Regions from separate parts of the Homo sapiens genome. Here region 1 is linked to region 2. Evidence: promoter capture Hi-C in human tissues and cell types (Jung and others, 2019). All regions are on one chromosome and are shown on one strand. Each heading gives the region's core, a stretch centred on a gene start or on the middle of the fragment in contact. The rest is flanking DNA. Distances are from core to core; before and after follow the strand shown. Region 1 overlaps UTP11 (UTP11 small subunit processome component). Region 2 holds the start of GNL2 (G protein nucleolar 2).

Region 1 (4,829 bases), core at 1,357-3,856, 430 kb before region 2:
TCACTGTTTGTGCTCCTGTGCCAGACGGTGTGTAGGTATGCCTGTACCTGTTTATGAGGCCTGAGTTATATGTGCCTTGTGCATCTGTGAACATGAGATTCCATGAGGCGAGCCTACCTTCATGTGGGTGTGTGGTTCGTGAGAAGGCATTTAGGTCTATTCCCTATCCTCTCCCCCACTTTCCCACCCAGCAGGGGCAAGAGACGGAGCAGCAGCATCCAGCTGTTTGACCCCAGGATCAGACTGCTGCTTAGTCTGCTCACTCCCCTGTCTAGTATCACTATGATGAGTCCCTTCCCTGGTTTGATCCTCAAGTCTCTAAAACTTTCAGCATTGACTGAGCTCAGCACCTCCCCAGAAGGGAGTGCATACACACAATGGGAAGCATTTCCTTCCTGAAGGCAAAACCTACTGGTTTCTGTTTCCTGACCCTTCTTGCTGTTTTCCAGGGCCCCTGATTTAAATTCCACTGGGTACACCCTGAGGAAACAGGCTTCTAGTCTAGGCTTGTACAGGAAGCTCACAGTCATGGGCACTTATTAAGCATTAACAATTTTCTTTTAAAGCCTTACAATCCACACATGGCTGTTCTCCCTCCTTGGTGTAAGGGCTACGCAAGCCCCCCAGAACCCCGCTCCCTGTTCTCCCATGTTTGCTCTAAGCATGTTCAGTCCTGTCCTTACTGTCCTTGGCCTATAATCCTGATATGGGCAAACAAAGGAAGGAGAGAACCAGAGAAGAGAAAGAAGCTGGCCAACACACCCAGGGGTCCATATTCCCAGAGTGAAGGTCTGCACCAAGCTATTCTAGCCTTGGAATTGTGAGTTGGCATGGAGTGCAGAGGACAGAGACACAGCCAGGCCTATACTGATTTGAGCTTCATCAATAAGGAAGAGGTGCTCCCGTAGGTTCCTTGTTCCAAGAGTTTCTATCTGCAGCTGTTAAGTAAGAGAAAAAAATTCCTCCTTGGATAATTTATGAAGCCACCTGAATAGCCAATAAAAGAAGAATGAGTGAGGGTAAAATCAGTCTATCCACTAGATAAAACACTATGCAATCATTAAAAATAATATTTATTTTAACGTTTACTCTAGCATATATTACTGTAAAAAACTTTTGTGATGTAACAAACTGGGAAAGAGCTAATGATTTAATTAAAAAGTAGGACATCGGCCGGGCGCGGTGGCTCACGCCTGTAATCCCAGCACTTTGGGAGGCCGAGGCGGGTGGATCATGAGGTCAGGAGATCGAGACCATCCTGGCTAACAAGGTGAAACCCCGTCTCTACTAAAAAAATACAAAAAAAAATTAGCCAGGCGCGGTGGCGGGCGCCTGTAGTCCCAGCTACTCGGGAGGCTGAGGCAGGAGAATGGCGTGAACCCGGGAAGCGGAGCTTGCAGTGAGCCGAGATTGCGCCACTGCAGTCCGCAGTCCGGCCTGGGCGACAGAGCGAGACTCCGTCTCAAAAAAAAAAAAAAAAAAAGTAGGACATCAAATTGTTTACTGTAACTATAAAACACAAAAACATGGACAAAAAGTGATGCCTCGTTTTACAAAATGGAGGAAATCAACTAGACTACTCACAGTAATTGTCCACCTCCACAGCTCTAGCTCCTAGCACAGTTAAGCATGCAATAAATATTTGTTATTATTGAATAAGCACTGGGATTAGGAATGAATTAATCTACTTTCCAAATCTGCTGTAATGAGATCCTATGTTTCATAACAAAAAAAATTATGGGCTGGGCATAGTGGCTCATCCCTGTAATCCCAGCCCTTTGGGAGGCCAAGGTGGGAGGATCGCTTGAGGCCACGAGTTCAAAACCAGCCTGGCCAACATGGCAAAACCTGGTCTCTACAGAAAATTTAAACATTACTCAGACATGGTGGCACATGTCTGTGGTCCCAGCTACTCAAGAGGCTGATGCAGGAAGATCACTTGAGCCCAGGAGTTCAAAGTTGCAGTGAGCCATAATCACACACTGCACTTCCAGCCTGGCAACAAAGACCCTATCTCAAAGAAAAAAAAAATTAAGTATATAAAAATAAGACTAATTTCACAATCCAAAAACAATTACAGAAGGGAGGGAGATTTAATGTTGTCCATAGAAAGACATTAAATGTCAGACTGACAATTTAGTTATGGTTACAAACCGGAAAACCATGCCATTTGGAGTAATGGAATTTGAAGTTACTAGAAAACGACAACAGATTTTTGATACAGAATGACAAGGCTTATCTATAACACGTCAACGTTTTCGACGACTCTGAAATTTATAAATAGCTGGGGAGTTCACCGTTTCTTTCTTCACCTTCACTTTCTGAGTTTTATCCTACAAAAGAGTAAAAAGGTGATCAGTAAAGAGAAGGAAATGGTTTTGTAAAATCGAAAGGTTAATAAACTACCTATTAGCACCTGCTTCAGCCCTTCTCAAAGTTGAGAACGGACACAGCCCTACTGCCCAAGGCATCCACTGTAGGCAATGAATTAACTTCTCCCCTAGGCATCTAGAAAGTACTAGCTGTGTACAGTCCTAGGAAAACTGAGAAGAAAGGTGTTCAAGTAGTTGTTTCATTTAAAATTATAATTTTAATTCTCTCACGGAACCCCAGTTGAGAAAGGCTGACCTAAATGATCTACAAAGCTAAAGAATTTGACATTTAGAGGAATGATAAGAATATGAAAGAGGCATCTTATATTCCTCAGCTCTGCTATTTAACTACACAATGTTGTCTATTTTTAAACACCAATGAGTGACATGCACTGTTTTGTTAACCTGTTTAAATGTTACGGGAGCTGCTCATAAGCTATAAAGTTCATATGCTACCCGATCCTACCCTTTGCTGTTCCAAAGCACTGACTAATAACCCCCTTATTACCTCCTTAATCAAGGCGCATTTCAACACTGTCAGAGTAACAGACACTGGCTCAAACCACTGCCCCTGAGGAGCAGACATTTTCACTGGGGTTGATTTACACACAGCTGAAATCTAGTCTGAGTTAAGACCTTTACAAGAAAGAAAAGGGGGAAAAAAAAAAAAAGAGGCCTAAGGCTCTCTCTCCTCACCATAAGATCTTTGCGTGTTTGAATTTTCTGAGCAATAACGAACAATTTCTTCTCTCGTTCAATCCGCTGTGTCAGGCAGTTATACTGCTTTTGCCTTTCTTTAGCTATTCGCTGGAGAAGAAACACACACATTCTCAGTGAACAATGAACAGGACAAAAATGAGTAAGAAACTGTTTCTTAATCCATTTAAGCCAACTGCATAGTTTCATCAACTCCCTTCTTTCACCAGAATCAACATAACGTGGTAACAATAACGTTGCCCATTTTAGGAACATCACATTCTGGAGCTGAAAGGAACCCTGGGCCAGACGCAGTGGCTCACGCCAGTAATCCCAGCACTTTGGGAGGCTGAGGAGGGAGGGTCACTTGAGCCCAGGAGTTCCAGACCAACGTAGGCAACATAATGAGACTCTGTCTCAAAAAAAAAAAATTAAAAATTAAAAAAGGAACCCTGTAGACTATCTTATCGAAACCCGTCATTTACAAACGCAGAAAAATGAGGCCCAGAGAAGAAGTGGTCCAAGGACACACAGCTCACCTGGAGCAGAGTCAGGACCGTCCCCCTCTCACAAATCCCAGGAATCTTTCCACTACTACACTAAGCTGCTTCAACCTTTGTGTGAGTGCCACAGTCACCTGAGATGATGGCAGGAATGAATCAGTGTTGGAAACCCTATACAAAGTGAATGGAGAGCAACAGAAGAGTCGGCAACAGAAGGGTCCCCAGGCAGTGTGCTGGTGCCTGAAAATCTTACCACTCAGAAAGCAGAAGAATTTTTTCAGCAGAAGCTCACCTGAGAATTCTCACTGCTAATGACTCCTCAAAGATCAGTGGGGTCCTTACATTTTGGGGAATCATCAACCTCAGAGAAACTGATGAAAGCTTTGGGATCTTTCTTCTTTTTTTTTTTTTTCTGAGGCGGAGTCTTGCTCTGTCGCCCAGGCTGGAGTGCAGTGGCACTATCTCGGCTCGCTACAACCTCCGCCTCCTGGGTTCAAGCAATTCTGCTGCCTCAGCCTCCCTAGTAGCTGGGATTACAGGTGCCCGCCACCACGCCTGGCTAATTTTTGTATTTTTAGTAGAGACAGGGTTTCACTACATTGGCCAGGCTAGTCTCGAACTCCTGACCTCAAGTGATCCACCTGCCTTGGCCTCCCAAATTGCTGGGACTACAGGCATGAGCCACCACGCCCAGCATGGGATGTTTCTTGAGATAAATGTACATACACATTTGTAAAAGGTTGTGCAAGCACATATACCTATCTGCACAAAATACCAGTGAGAAAGGGGGGTTTTCTCAGACCTCCTAAAGCTCACTCATGGGTTGTCTACCCACTCGAAGTTACAGACAAAATATCCTTGCAATCCACCCACCAGCAGTCTCTTAATAAAAATGATTTTGCAGTAAACAAAATAGAAAGAAACATAATTACTAGACAAAAATGGCAAAAATCTAAACCTCCCTAACTTCTCAAAAGCTATGCTGGTGAACTATTCTACATGGGAATTTGGAATACTAATCTCTTTAGGGACTACCACAATTCTTGAGAAGCGTCAGTGACACGGCTAATTGAAAGTACACCTAATTGCCGGGCGCGGTAGCTCACGCCTGTAATCCCTGCACTTTGGGAGGCTGAGGTGGGTGGATCACAAGGTCAGGAGTTCAAGACCAGCCTAGCCAAAATGGTGAAACCCTGTCTCTACTAAATATACAAAAAATTAGCCAGGCGTGGTGGCGGGCACCTGTAATCCCAGCTAC
Region 2 (5,107 bases), core at 2,303-4,802:
TAAAACAGATCCCCCAAGTGATTCTGATGCTTGTGGTTCTCAGACCACACTTTAAAAAATGTTGCTTTAGAAGCTGCTGCTATTTGCCCATTAGACCCCAGTGATAAACTTTTTACAGAATGAAGATAAAAGTGAGGTCAGGGCCCGGCACACTGGCTCATGCCTATAATCCCAGCACTTTGGGAGACTGAGGCAAGTGGATCACCTGAGGTCATGAGTTCAAGACCAGCCTGGCCAACATGGCGAAACCCCATCTCTACTGAAAATACAACAATTAGCTGGGTGTCCTGGTGGGTGCCTGCAATCCCAGCTACTCGGGAGGCTGAGGCAGGAGAATTGCTTGAACTGATGAGGCAGAGGTTGCAGTGAGCTGAGATCGTGCCATTGCACTCCAGCCTGGGTGACAGAGCAAGACTCTATCTGAAAAAAAAAAAAAAAAAAAAAAAAGTAAGGTCAGGATTGTCTGCTTCCTGTGAAGACACCAGTCCAGAACATGGCATTTCCAGCCAGTCTCCATCCATTAAGGTCTTCTCATTCACACAAACCTGTGGTTACCAGGAGCAACATTTGAGGGGATGAGTAGCTCACCTTGGATTTTGAGAAAAATAGAAAGCATCCCTGGCCGGTGCAGTGGCTCATGCCTGTAATCCCAGCACTTTGGGAGACCGAGGCGGGAAGATCTCGAGGTCAGGAAATTGAGACCAGCCTGGCCAACATGGCGAAACCCCGTCTCTACTAAAAACACAAAAATTAGCTGGGCATGGTGGTGCGTGCCTGTAATCCCAGCTACTTGGGAGGCTGAGGCATGAGAATAGCTTGAATCTAGGAGGCAGAGTTTGCAGTGAGCTGAGATCATGCCACTGCACTCCAGCCTGGTGAAAGGGCAAGACTCCATCTCAAAAAAAAAAAAAAAAAAAAGAAGAAAAATAGAAAGCATCCCATCTGCATGATGTGTACCATGTCTGCGATGCTTTCATATACTGTAACTCATATGATCTTATTGCAGTCTTTCAGAGTAGTTAAGCTATTGCATCTGTTTTAAAGCTGAGGAACTGTAGACCTGGAGGTGTATCTTGCCTCTGCTAGTTGGCATGACATCAGAAAAGAGAGTGAAAAATAGTCACTGCATTACAATGCGGCAAGCAGGGCAGGCAAATCAAACCAGTAACTTAAGCTTGACTTACCTTGATCAGGCTTTTTATCTGCTGGTAGAATTGAAGTTGGTTGTCGAGATCGGCAAATATTGTTGTAAAAGGATTGATGGGTCAGATTATAAAAATAGATGGAAAGTTTGTAAGATAAATGCAAGCAGAGTATGAGAACAGGAGAGAAACAACCCACCATATCATCTGGGAAAATGAAACTCCTTGGCAAGACTTCACAACAGCCTGATTCAAAATTTCATAATGAAATTATGTCTCTGATCAAAGCCTGAATGAGCTCATAGGCTGATTTTTGCCATCCGTGTTTATTCTGGTTTGCACCAACTTGAGGCATCAGAAACACATTAACTGAATCTTCTCTCTGGGAGGAGGCTATGGTATCCTTGTTTTGGGGATCAGAGGGACAGTGTGGGGTGGAAGGGGGCATCTTCACTGATCATGAAGTTTTTTCCAAATAGCTCTCAGAGCTTCCCTAACACAGGTCACAGTCAGGGCCTTCCCAGCAGAGCTGCATTTAATCTCATGATACTTGCCCTTGGGGCAATAAAAGCGAAGCTTGAGGGACAGAAGGTATTTCCAGCTCTAGCCTATGACATGGCCTGCTTTTGCTCTAAAGAGAATGTTTTGGGGTTTGTTTCAAACTCAGAGAAATAAAGACTCAATCATCCCCTGCTCAATTAGAATACCTCACTTTATAACAAATTGTTTGTTTTTATGAAATGAGCTACACTGCATGAATCCACCCTTCCTCTTGCCTAACCATCTCTTCTTTGGCCTATCCAGAGGGTACAAAGATGGCCATTTTCTGACAATTTGAGGTACCAAAAAAGAGAGAGGGACCAGGCGAGGTGGCTCACACTTGTAATCCCAGCACTTTGGGAGGCTGAGGCAGGTGGATCACCTGAGGTCAGGAGTTTGAGACCAGCCTGGCCAATGTGGTGAAAGCCCGTCTCTACTAAAAATACAAAAATTAGCTGGGCATGATACCATGCGCCTGTAATCTCAGCTACTTGGGAGGCTGAGGCAGGAGAATTGCTTGAACCCGGGAGGTGGAGGTTGCAGTGAACCGAGACCGGGCCACTGCACTCCAGCCTGGGCAACAAGAGCGAGACTCCGTCTCAAAAAACAAAAACAAAAACAAACAAACAAAAAATAAATTGTAAAAAGAGAGAGGGCTTCTTGGTTCAAACACTGGCATCTAGACACTTTATTCTGGCTAGTAGAAACAGAAATCACTGGGTCTTAATGCCTTCCTTCATCCTCAAGGCAAGAGACATTCCCATCTACTCATTCTTTCACTTAATGAATATTTTTTGAGTCCTTTGTTTCAGATGCTATTCAAGTCTTAAAGACACAGCAGTGAACAAATTAACAAGGTCCCTGCTTTTAAGAATCTTACATTCTAGTTTGGGGGAAGCAGCCAATAAACTTGTAAAAAAAATTCAACTAGTGATAAATGCCATGAAATAAATAAAACAGAATACTGTAACAGAATAACTGTGAAAGGGTGAAAGGTGGCTGATTTAGACAAATTAGACAGGAATGAGTTCTCACAGCAGGAAGGGTCACCAGATAAAATACAGAACGTACAGTTACATTTGAATTTCAGGCAAACGATGAATACTTTTTTAGTCTAAGTATTTTCCAGGCACTGTTGGAGGTGTACTAAAGAAAAGTATTCATTTTTTTTCTCTGAAATTCTAATTTAATTTGGTGTCCTGTATTTCTATTTGCTAATTCTTGCAGGCCTACCAATAGGTGATATTTGAGCTTAGGATTGAATGACAGCTATGCAAAGATTCTGGGAAAGAGTGATTCAGGCAGAGAGAATATCCAGTGTAAATGTCAGAATAACCAGAGGGAGGGACGTACACATGAGATTAGATAAATAGGCAGGCAGGGGCCAGATCACAGAATCCTGTAGGGATGGCAAAAAGTTTGAATCAATCTCTGTCTCTGTCTGTTTCTCCCTTCTCCCTTCCCCTACCTCTCATTCTAAGAGTGATGATAAGCCACTGGAGTTGTAAGGAAGAGAATGACACCTCCTAACGGATATTTGGCTGCTGTGTGGTCGGCAACTTTTGGAAGGACTTAGAAGACAAATTCAGAAGACAAACTTAAGCTTGTGCCACTGGCCTGGGAAGAAGCTTCTTTATTCGGAGGTGGACCCAACTGGGAGCTCTGGCCGCGCGTTCAGGTTAACTAGGCGGTTGCTATGAACGGGCAGCTTGGCGGTTGCTAGGGCTGGAGCGGGCTGGGGCTCCACGCAGGGCGACGCCTAGGCGGCTGGAGCGGGGGCGGAGCCAGGAGGGTGACGGCGCGCGCCGCGCGTTCACAGGAAGTCGCTCTGAGGCCGAGAGGGACGCGAGCGGAAGTGACGTACGTCGTGCACACGTGGTCCGGCGTGGTTCAGGCGGGTGTCTTCGGCCGGGCTTGGGAACATAAAAGTTTGTTTCACCACGTAAGCCGGACCTCGCACTCCGGTCCCGGTCTCGTCGCCAAGATGGTGAAGCCCAAGTACAAAGGACGGAGCACCATCAACCCGTCCAAGGCCAGCACAAACCCAGGTACAGGCGGCAGGGCTGATCGAGGGTGGAGCTTGGAGGAAGTATAGGGAAGGGCTCCGAGGAGCACTGGAGGGGAAGGAGGGTTACTCGAGTGGCATTGCTTAGAATGACTACGAGCGGGGTGGCTGTTGGGGATGAAAAGGGAAAAAGGAAAGCAATATTTGTGGTGGTTTCTTCTCAGGGGGGAACTGAGGAGGGCTCAGTGCACGCCTGGCAGGCCAAAGTGTAGTCAACTGGTCTGAAGTCAAGGAAAGTGAACACTCAGGCTGACAGCCTTGGGTCCTCTCCAGTTGAGAGATGCAGAGAAAGTCAGATTAAAAATGGTGTAGGTTGACCCTTCGGGCCTTTTACACGTGATCATACTTGCCTGCCACCTTAGCTTTGACCTTTAAAATGAGAAAGGGCTTATAGTTTTGGCCCTTGGAATTATTCTATCTGGTAAAGTGCTTAGAGAACCCTACAAAGAAGTCAGTATGATCATTGCAGTAAGGCTGTTTAGGAGATGTGTGTAAGTTTTGGCGAGGTTCCACCTGTACGATTAACAAGACATCCTATGGGAGAGTTCCTTCCATTCAGGTTTAATTAATAAAACTTTGTTTTAAAATATGGTTTAGAATTTTTGACAATTTTAATGCAAGTTGAATGTTTATTCCGGATTGATAATAAATTATTCACTTTGCACAAACTGGAATCTCAGAATGTTAGACCCCAAAAGGCCCTTAGAGATTATGATTTTACAGGTGAAGAGACTGAATCAAAATACAGGAAGTGGCCTGTCATAATTGCAACAGTTAGTGAGTAGTAGTAGAGCCGCCAGTTTCTACTGTTAGAGACTGTTAGGAGAGCCAATGGGCTGTGGTTTCAGCCTGTCTTCTACTGTATCACTTCAGGACCAGACAGGTGATTTAAGGGGCTCCTGGCCAGGTGTGGTGGCTCACGCCTGTAATCCCAGCACTTTGGGAGGCCGAGGCGGTCGGATCACCCGAGGTCAGGAGTTCAAGACCAGCCTGACCAACATGATGAAACCCCCTCTCTACAAAAATACAAAGATTAGCCGGGCATGATGGCGGATGCCCGTAATCCCAGCTACTCGGGAGGCTGAGGTGGAAGAATTGCATGAACCGGGGAGGTGGAGGTTGTAGTGAGCTGAGATCGCGACACTGCACTCCAGCCTGGGTGACAGAGCACGACTCTGTCTCAAAAAAAAGATAATAATAATGAATAAATGAATAAATAGGTAAATAAAGGGCTCCCAAAATGAGAAGCTAGGCTAGTATTACCCTATTCGTTTGTCCTTCTCTTTCTCTTTGAGATGTAAGGCAAGAATTGCTGTGTTGATTAAACAAAAATCAAACATTAAGAAAGTAAGAACACATA

What was found. The method cuts DNA at HindIII sites, captures the fragments that hold promoters and counts their contacts. A contact is called where the count stands out against the background at its distance.
Region 1: a contact is called between a fragment that was not itself captured here and the fragment with the promoter of GNL2 in region 2, in 1 of the 25 tissues and cell types used here (hippocampus).

Annotation. Positions count from the first base shown.
Region 1 is chr1:38,021,049-38,025,877 of GRCh38, reverse strand. It overlaps UTP11 (UTP11 small subunit processome component), which reads right to left. Exons shown (of 8, transcript NM_016037.4): 7 at 3,069-3,179; 8 at 1,058-2,333. The coding sequence ends at 2,250. Among named protein-coding and RNA genes, the nearest start is that of UTP11, 11 kb to the right of the region's middle. The HindIII fragment of the contact is 9,293 bases long and covers 1-4,829 here.
Region 2 is chr1:37,594,382-37,599,488 of GRCh38, reverse strand. It overlaps GNL2 (G protein nucleolar 2), which reads left to right and starts at 3,552. Exons shown (of 16, transcript NM_013285.3): 1 at 3,552-3,730. The coding sequence starts at 3,667. RefSeq lists enhancers at 3,634-3,823, 3,994-4,053. The HindIII fragment of the contact is 8,299 bases long and covers 2,503-5,107 here.